Regions from separate parts of the Homo sapiens genome. Here region 2 is linked to region 1. Evidence: promoter capture Hi-C in 16 types of primary human blood cells and fetal thymus (Javierre and others, 2016). All regions are on one chromosome and are shown on one strand. The core of a region is centred on a gene start or on the middle of the fragment in contact, and the rest is flanking DNA. Distances in the headings are between cores, read along the strand shown. Region 1 holds the start of CCDC24 (coiled-coil domain containing 24). Region 2 holds the start of ST3GAL3-AS1 (ST3GAL3 antisense RNA 1).

Evidence for each region. The method cuts DNA at HindIII sites, captures the fragments that hold promoters and counts their contacts. A CHiCAGO score of 5 or more calls a contact.
Region 2: a contact is called between the fragment with the promoter of ST3GAL3-AS1 here and the fragment with the promoter of CCDC24 in region 1, in 3 of 17 cell types (endothelial precursors, megakaryocytes and activated CD4 T cells). The highest score is 7.0, in endothelial precursors.

The regions. Positions count from the first base shown.
Region 1 is chr1:43,989,483-43,994,337 of GRCh38, forward strand. It overlaps CCDC24 (coiled-coil domain containing 24), which reads left to right and starts at 2,117. Exons shown (of 9, transcript NM_152499.4): 1 at 2,117-2,264; 2 at 2,365-2,522; 3 at 2,730-2,905; 4 at 3,041-3,157; 5 at 4,405-4,482. The coding sequence starts at 2,397. It overlaps B4GALT2 (beta-1,4-galactosyltransferase 2), which reads left to right. Exons shown (of 7, transcript NM_003780.5): 7 at 816-1,686. The coding sequence ends at 966. RefSeq lists silencers at 2,271-2,380, 2,521-2,570. The HindIII fragment of the contact is 1,600 bases long and covers 1,453-3,052 here.
Region 2 is chr1:43,724,935-43,729,789 of GRCh38, forward strand. ST3GAL3-AS1 (ST3GAL3 antisense RNA 1) reads right to left here and starts at 2,409. Exons shown (of 4, transcript NR_125986.1): 1 at 2,299-2,409. All of the region lies in intron 1 of ST3GAL3 (ST3 beta-galactoside alpha-2,3-sialyltransferase 3), which reads left to right. The HindIII fragment of the contact is 15,149 bases long and covers 1-4,855 here.

The DNA of each region.
Region 1 (4,855 bases), core at 867-3,366:
TAGGAATTTTAGTTGAATGGATTGGTCAACAGGTTACTGGAGGAGCTATGAATATTTACGGAGGGGGTCCTGACATATGCATATCGAACAAACATGCATGTTATATACCATCCATGTTCACCTTGGGGTGGAGACTTAATATTTAAATATATCGCAGTTAGGCCCCATACGTCAAAAAGACAAAAGCACTCAAGTGCGCAGCCTCTGTAAGCTGGCTAGAACCAGTCCATGGCCGATGGTCTTATCAGGAGAAAGTTACTGAGATCAGTCTCTTGTCCCACCAAAGCTATAATTATGGCTTGTGGAACAGGGGCGTAGGGGTCAGCATCTGGCAGTGGGTGAGCTGCAAATTTTTTTCTATTATTTATATTACCACATTATACAAATTGTTTTAATATTGGTTATCTCAAGTCCTGTACTTGTTTAGCTGCTACAGAAAAAGAAAATCCTCGCGGCAGTTAGAGCATAGTCTCTTCTTTAAGTGCAGAGGTGCAAGACTTAACCCTTGCCTGGCATGGCCTTAGATCCTATTTATAATTAGGTATCTTATTGACACAAACAATGCATTCTGTCAGTCTTGTGATCTCTGCTTTGACGTTAATGCTGGTCATTTGTTGTGTCTAAGCTGCAAAAGGGCGTGGGCATAACATGGCATGTTTGACGTCCCTTCCCATCATAGCTGGAAACCCTGTTTTTAAGGTTCCCTGGGGTCCCCTTGGCCAAAAGGGGGTCCATTTAGTTGGTTGGGGGGTGTAGGATTTTATTTTTAGTTTACAGTTGTTAGCCCTGATGTGGACCATTTCCATCCTATCTAGGTTTACCAAGATTCAAAACACGAAGCTGACCATGAAGCGGGACGGCATTGGGTCAGTGCGGTACCAGGTCTTGGAGGTGTCTCGGCAACCACTCTTCACCAATATCACAGTGGACATTGGGCGGCCTCCGTCGTGGCCCCCTCGGGGCTGACACTAATGGACAGAGGCTCTCGGTGCCGAAGATTGCCTGCCAGAGGACTGACCACAGCCTGGCTGGCAGCTGCTCTGTGGAGGACCTCCAGGACTGAGACTGGGCTCTGTTTTCCAAGGGTCTTCACTAGGCCCCCTAGCTACACCTGGAAGTTTCAGAACCCACTTTGGGGGGCCTCCTGCCTGGGCAGGCTCTTCAAGTGTGGCCCTCTTTGGAGTCAACCCTCCTTCCCGACCCCCTCCCCCTAGCCCAGCCCCAGTCACTGTCAGGGTCGGGCCAGCCCCTGCACTGCCTCGCAGAGTGGCCTGGGCTAGGTCACTCCACCTCTCTGTGCCTCAGTTTCCCCCCCTTGAGTCCCCTAGGGCCTGGAAGGGTGGGAGGTATGTCTAGGGGGCAGTGTCTCTTCCAGGGGGAATTCTCAGCTCTTGGGAACCCCCTTGCTCCCAGGGGAGGGGAAACCTTTTTCATTCAACATTGTAGGGGGCAAGCTTTGGTGCGCCCCCTGCTGAGGAGCAGCCCCAGGAGGGGACCAGAGGGGATGCTGTGTCGCTGCCTGGGATCTTGGGGTTGGCCTTTGCATGGGAGGCAGGTGGGGCTTGGATCAGTAAGTCTGGTTCCCGCCTCCCTGTCTGAGAGAGGAGGCAGGAGCCCCAGGGCCGGCTTGTGTTTGTACATTGCACAGAAACTTGTGTGGGTGCTTTAGTAAAAAACGTGAATGGAGCAGCTCCCTTGTCTGTTTGGGGGTGGGGGTCGGGTCCCTGAACGTGGTTACCCTGAGTGTGTTGTGGTGGAAGGGCACTTGGGGAACCTGGCCCAACAAGTAAACCTGACCCGGGCCATCCTGGTTCTCCAAGCGCTGCCACTCCCTAGGCTTTCACTGGCCTTAAGGGGAAGTTTGTCCTTGCACTGCTTCCGGGACAGTGGAGGCGACGAAGTAATAAACCCGTGGACCCAGATTTCTCAGGTCTTAACACGTTCCCTGAGGCCTAAAGGTGCCCAGGGCCGAGCCCAAAGTGCTTGGGTCAGGGCTCGGTGGAGCGCCGAGGTGAGTCTGAACTCCCAGCCGGCACGCGCCGCCCGCCGGACCAAACACGGGAGGGGGCGGGGCCCTAGAGTCGCGGCGTGGTTTCCCGGGTGATGGCCACGCGGAAGAGGTGGGGCTAGGGCCCTGGTTCCCACTGCCTGGTTTCTGGGCCCCCGGCATCCGAGTCGGCCAAAAGCCGGGCAGAAGAGAGCGCCAAGGACTGGCAGTTCCGGAACGGGCAATCCCAGCCGAGGGGACCAGCGGCAGAGCACGGGTGGGGCTTGGGAGAGGGCGGGGCCCATAGAGGGGCGGGGTTTGGTGAGCGTTGCCGGCGGGCCCGCGGTACCTCCCGCACTCTGACCTGCGGCCCGTAGGTCCGAGCCGGGGACGGCGGCGTCGGTGGGTCATGCTCCGGCACTCCCCCTCGCTGTGGGAGCTGGTGGAGGAGCACGTTCCGCTCCGGGAGCGACGCGAAGTGAAGAGGATTCTGGGGGAGGCGGCGGTGGACCTGAGCCTGGAGCTGCGGGCGGAGGTGGGGAGAGGGAAGGTGGGCCACGCCCCTGGCCTGCCCCACGACTCGGGTGATTTCCCACCTCTGCGGGTCCCTGGCCCTGCCGGGTAACTCCCGAGATCCTATCCTGGTCTCCCCTTTGACTCCGCCCTCTCCCTCACTCCCCCAGCCCCCACCATTCCGGACACTCCCCTCCCCAGTCGCAAGGTATCCCAGCTCTCCTTGCAGGTGGCGATGTTACGGGCACTGCTCCAAGAGGCTCGATCCTCTCAAGCCCCCAGCTCCCGCCCCATCTCTGACCCCTCTTCTCTTCTGGCACCACCGCCTCTCCTAAAGGACCTCTTGCGCCAGGAGCTCCGGCAGTTGCTCCAGGGTCTCCGCCACAAAGCCATCTGTGAGGGCAGGTGGGAGCCTCAGGCCTGGGCCCTTTCCCTAGATACCAGGTGGGCTAGCGCTGCCCCTAACAAGGAGCCAGGGTTGCCTTTTCTGTGGTTTCCAGAAAGGAGCCTCTCAGCTTCCTTCCTGTGCACCTTCTGCAGGGACCAGGCCCAAGCTTGGGTCCAGTATAGCCCCAGGGTCCTGCACTTTGCCTTGGAGGAGCCCAGGTGTGATTTGCCAGAACAGGAGATATTCCAGATGAGAGGTGGTGGGCCCAGGTAAGGTGATGGTAGGAGAGAGGGATCTGTCCCTGCTTGGCAGAGGGCCCTAGCCCACTGGTGGGTTGCACCTGGCTCCATGCAGGAGATTCCAGTCACGGGCTGGGCACTTCCACCGCCACTTGTGATAGAGATTATCAGCCCATGAGGGCTACTGAAACCCAGAGGAAACACCTGCCTAGCCTGGGGACAGGCAAAGCTTCCTGGAGAAAGTGGTTTGATCTGCGTGTTGTAGTATGAGGAGCAGTTTTCAGGGAGATGAAAGAGAAGAGCTTTGTAGGAAGAGGGAAGAAAGGAAGCCATGTCCAGCAGGCGGTTGTTCCTCTGGCCTAGAGAACAGGAGTGAGGGCTGGGCTAGGGAGGCAGGGAGAGCTGAAGAGGATGGTCACAAATGGTATTTACAGCTGGGACTGAATGAGATAAAATATTCATAAGTGGATGGCAGCAACTTCTTATTCTAATCCTCACACAGCCTGAGGAGGTGGGCAAAATCTCCATTTTGCACAAGAGGAAATTAAAGGCCGGGCATAGTGGCTCATGCCTGTAATCCCAGCACTTTGGGAGGCTGAGGCGGGAGGATGGCTTGAGGCCAGGAGTTTGAGATCAGCCTGGGCAATACAGGGAGACCCCATCTTTACAAAAAGTGAAAAAAAAAATAGTCAGGTGAGGTGGCGCATGCCTGTATTCCCAGCTACTTGGGAGGCTGAGGTGGGATAATTGCTTGAGCTCAGGAATTCGGGGCTGCAGTGAGCTATGATTGCACCTGTGCACTCCAACCTGGGTGACAAAGACCCTGTCTCTAAGAAAAAAAAAAAAGAAGCCTGGGCAACATAGTGAGACCCCATCTGTGCAAAAAAATTGAACAGGCGTGGTGGCACGCACCTGTAGTCCCAGCTACTCAGGAGGCTGATGTGGGAAGAGCACTTGAGCCCGGGATGTCAAGGCTGCAGTGAGCCAAGATGGTGCTACTGCACTCCAGCCTGGGCAACAGAGCACAATCTTGTCTCAAAAAAAAAAAAAAAAAAGGAAAAGAAACTAAAGCTCAGAAGCGATAAGTGATTTGCCTGAAGTCACACACAATGAAGGGTGGCAGAGCTCATTTGCAAACCTAGGCTCCCAAACTCTTACTCTTTGCACTATATTATATTGCCTTTGTGAGAAAAGAAACAGTTGCCTAGAAGTGATATTTGGGTCCTGAAGGCCTGGGGTGAGCAACATGCGGAGAGTGATAGTGACTTCATTGCCAGCAGCGGTCACAGAGATCTCAGCATCATCAAGGACCAACTGAACGTGTCCAACATTGACCAGGTGGCCAGACACCTGAGGTGAGGCCCAGGGGCACCTGCATGTGTATAGGCAGGGGTGGAGACAAGGATGGATCTTGAGGTGCTGGGATTGTGAGACAGGAGGTGGGTAGTATACTTGGCGGGGAGGCCCATGTGCGTAAGGCTGAGAGGTGGAAAGAGCTGGCTGCTATAGAGCTAGTGAGGTTGCTTTCAGGAAGCAGCCAAGTACAGATGCCACGGCCGAGCATGATGGTGCATGCCTATAATCCCAGCAATTTGGGAGGCCGAGGCAAGAGGGTCATTTGGGCCCAGGAATTCGAAACCAGCTTGGCCAACATGGGAAAACCCCATCTCTACCAAAACAAATACAAAAATTAGCTGGGCGTGGTGGTGCACGCCTGTACCAGTTACT
Region 2 (4,855 bases), core at 1,159-3,658, 260 kb before region 1:
ACCACAGAGTTGAAGAATTAATGAGAAGAGAGAAGTCAGAAGTCCTCTAAGGTGGGGCCTGAGTTTCTGTGTTTCGGTGTCCTCGCTGCCATGTGTAATCCCTAGCACATAGTGTTTGTCCTATTAGCTTTGGACAGAAGAGAGCCACTTCCCTCTCTGGGATAAGATGCATGTATGTGGAGAGGATGTGTCCAAATCGCTGTGCTCCATCTGCATTCTAGAGGGAGCATCTGCAACTCTTTACCTGCATGCTTTTTTCTTTTTTCTTTTCTTTTCTTTCTTTTTTTTGAGATGGAGTTTCACTCTTGTTGCTCAGGCTGCAGTGCAGTGGTGCAATCGGCTTACTCCAACCTCTGACTCCCAGGTTCAAGCTATTCTCCTGCCTCAGCCTCCCAAGTAGCTGGGATTATAGGCATGCACCATCACGCCCAGCTAATTTTGTATTTTTAGTGGAGACGGGTTTTACCATGTTGGTCAGACTGGTCTTGAACTGACCTCAGGTGATCCACCCACCTCGGCGTCTCAAAGTGCTGGGATTACAGCATGAGCCGCTGCGCCTGGCCTGCATGCTTTTTTCTGACCATACAGGGAGGCCAAGTGCAGTCCCACAGCCAGAATTCTCTGTCTTAAATCTACTTCTAGCATTTTTATTTTTTATTTATCTTTTTCTGTCTCTCATGGTTGAGTGCCTGATACTCTTATTAAATTTAATTAATTAATTAATTTTTTTGAGACAGTGTCCCACTCTGTCACCCAGGCTGGAGTGTACTGGCATGGTCTCAGTTCACCGCAGCCTCCACTTCCCAGTCTTAAGTGATCCTCCCACCTCAGCCTCCTGAGTTGCTGGGACTACAGGCACGCACCACCGTGCCTAGCTAATTTTTGTATTTTTTGTAGAGACGGTTTCGCTATGTTGCCCAGGCTAATCTCGAACTCTTAGGGTCAAGTGATGTGCCTGCCTTAGCTTCCCAAAGTGCTGGGATTACAGGCGTGAGCCATCGCACCCAGCCTCACGTTTTATTTTTCTCATTTAGTACGATACCAAAAGCATTTCTCTATACCATTAAAAAATTTTTTTAAGTTTATGCAGCCATTTAAAGTGGCTGCATAAACTCTCATTTAGATGTTTATTTGAACATTTAGTTTAAAATTCCTTTCCCTTTTTAACTTTTCATTTTGAAATAACTTCTTATTTACAAAAGAGTTGTAGAAATATTACAAAGAACTCCCATATGTCCCCTTCAGCTAGCTTATTGTGATGTCTGTCAGATTTCTCAACTTCAAAGTTACTCTGTTCCCCTCTGTTAATAATTAGTGAGGAAATAGTTTAAAACTATTTTATATCTTATTTTTTATTTATTTATTTATAAGAGATAGGGTCTTGCTCTGTCACTCAGGCTGGAGTGCGGTGGCATGATCTTAGCTCATTGCAGCCTCTAACTCCTGGGCTCAAGTAATCCTCCCTCCTCAGCCTCCCAAGTAGCTGGGACTACAGGCACATGCCACTATGCCCAGCTAATCTTAAAATTTTTTCTAGAGGTGGAATTTTGCTGTGTTGCCCAGGCTGGTCTTGAACTCTTGGCCTCATGTGATCCTCCTACCTTGGCCTCCCAAAGTGCTAGTATTACAGGCATGGGCTACTGTGCCTGGCCTATATCCCATTTCTTTTTCTTTTCTTGAGATAGAGTCTTGTTTTCTTGTTCAGGCTGGAGTGCAGTGGCACGATCTTGGCTCACTGCAGCCTCCGCCTGCCGAGTTCAAGCAATTCTTCTGCCTCAGCCACACAAGTAGCTGAGATTACAGGTGGGTGCCACCATGCCTGGCTAATTTTTGTATTTTTAGTAATATGGGGTTTCCCCATGTTGGCCAGGCTGGTCTCGAACTCCTGACCTCAAATGATCCGCCTGCCTCGGCCTCCCAAAGTGCTGGGATTACAGGTGTAAGCCATTGTTTCTGGCCCTGTATCCCATTTCTTGTAAAACTTGTATGCATTAATTTTAGCATCCATTGATGTTTCTTGGGTGAATTATTACTATAATGGTTCCTAAATGGTGATTTTCTAATTACATTATTCCTTCTATTTTCATCAGCTGTCGTTTCACTCTGAGAGCTTTCTCCCCCTTTATTAGATTCTTATTTAATGGATTATAATCTGTTATTATCAGTCTTTATCTTGATGCTGAATTGCTCCAGATCTGACCAGTGGGAGCTCCTCAGGCTGATTCCTTTTTCCTTTTGACCTGTCCTCACTCTGAGCATTTTCCCATTTTCAGGCACAACAAGGTGGCCCAGACTTACCTTACGCCTTCTCTGCCCCAGCCTTGGAGTCAGCCATTCTTCCAAGGAGACCTGCTTCCTTTTTTTTTTTTAAGCAATTGTTTATTACACTCCTGCTATATGCTATAAGATGATGAGCAAAACCAGACACAATTTCAGCCCTGGAAGGAGAAAAGGGAGGTCGATATTAATCAAGTAATAACATTAATGGGGGCATTTCTCAAGTGAGAGAAGTGCACTAAGGAAAGAAATGTGATTCTATGGTAGGGTAATAAAAGATCCTTGACTGGGGAGGGGCAGCATACCAGTAATTAACTGATCTGAAGAATCAGTAGAAATTAACTTGGTAAAAAGTGAAAGTGGATGGCTGAGTGGGACCAGCATTCAGAAGGCAGGTGCCTGCAGAGAAAGCCATCAGTTTTAACAAGAAATGCTGTATCAGAGATGAAACTAAACCTATTCCTCATCTTTTCTTCTTGCTTCAAACATAACTTTGAAAAATCATTTATGCTGTCTTTAGCCTCATCCCTTCCCCAAACTTCACATTGTTCTGGGTTTTAGGTGTCTCAAAAATTTTTTTTTTCTCCCGGAAGACCCATGACTCCTCTTGAATATTAAGTGCCTTTTTCTATCTGTGTCCTAAACCTTTTTTAAAAAAATAATTTCAACTTTTATTTTCAATTCAGTGATACATGTTCAGGTTTGTTACATGGGTATTGTGTGATGCTGAGATTTGGAGTATGATTGATCCTGTCACCCATGTACTCAGCATAGTACCCAACAGTTCATTTTTCAACCCTTGCGCCTTCACCCCTCATCCCCATCTAGTAGTCTCCAGTGTCTGTTATTGCCATCTGTGTGTCCGTAAGTACCCAATGTTTAGCTGCCACTTACAAGTAAGAACATGTGGTATTTGGTTTTCTGTTCCTGCGTTAATTTGCTTAGGATGATGGCCTCCAGCAGCAACCATGTTGCTGCAAAGACCTGAATTCATTCTTTTTTTATGGCTGCACCCTGCTTCTTGTTAGTGGAGAATAGTATTTCAAAACCAAGATCTACGGAGGTTATCGTGAGCTGAAATCGCACCATTGCACTCCAGCCTGGGCAACAAGAGCGAAACTCCTTCTCAGAAAACAAAAACAAAAACAAAAACACCATCAAAATCTAGGTACTAGATATGCTTCATGCTGTTGAGATATGACCACTGCCAGGGTCTTTCTGTGGGCAGAGCTAAAGAGTTATATGTTGGGGGGGTGGGCACAGTGGCGCACGCCTGTAATCCCAGCACTTTGGGAGGCCAAGGCAGGAGGATCATTTGAGTCTAGGAGTTTGATACCAACCTGGGCCACATAGCAAGACCCTGTTGCCACAAAAAGTTAAAAAAATTTTAGTAGCTGGGCGTGGTGACACGTGCCTATGGTCCTACCTACTTGGGAAGCTGAGATGGGAGGATCACTTGAGCCCAGGAGGTCGAGGTTGCAGTGAGGTATGATCACGCCACTGCACTCTGGTCTGAATGACAGAAACTGTTTAAAAAAAATTATATGTGTGTATACACACAAATGTACACACACTATCCTCACTATATTTATTTTTATGTCTTTGTATATATAACACACATATATACACATATGTATACACACATATGTACATATACACACACACACATATATATTTCTGTATTATTGTTCGTTTTGAGACAGAGTCTCTCTTTGTCGCCCAGGCTGGAGTGCAGTTGCATGTTCTCAGCTCACTGCAGCCTTCACTGCCTAGGCTCAAGTGCTCCTCCCACTGCAGACTCCTGAGTAACTGGGACTACAGGCACATGCCACCAGGCCTAGCTAATTTTTAAATTTTTTGTAGAGACAATTATTTTTCTTTTTTTTTTTTTTTTTTGAGACAGATTCTCACTCTGTCACCCAGGCTGGAGTGCAGTGCCATGATCTGGGCTCACTGCAACCTCTGCCTCCCCAGTTCAAGTGATTCTCCTGCCTCAGCCTCCCAAGTAGCTGGGATTACAGGTGTCCACTACCACGCCCAGCTATCGAGACAATTTTTTGTAAAGACTATATTGCCCAGGCTGGTCTCAAACTCTTGGGCTCAAGTGATCCTTATTCCTTGGCCTCCCAAAGTACGGGGATTACAGGTGTGAGCCACCATGCCTGGTTATATATTAAAAACCATTTTTTTCCCACTGAATACCTCCAATTTCAATACAAGTCAAAATATTAATTCCAGTTTTCCCTTTCCATATTTGTAACTTTCTTCTCCATCATTGGGAAATCTTGTTCCCATTAGCTTCAATACATTTACTTATCTGGTCAATCCCAAATCACCTGTTGCCACAACCTAGACCCCTCACATGGACTAATGTCCCTCTCTCCCCTTTCACCCCAGGCATGTGTGACTCTCCCTAAAGCCTACTGGTTTTTAGATTATTTAGAAAGGAAGGGATAGAGGGACCTCATTTTGTTTATGGATGCATAGTACCTATTTTGTGTATGTACCATAGTTGATTCAACCCTTGTTGAAGGACATTTGGAGTACATTGAATCTTACTCTGTTACGTTACAAATAG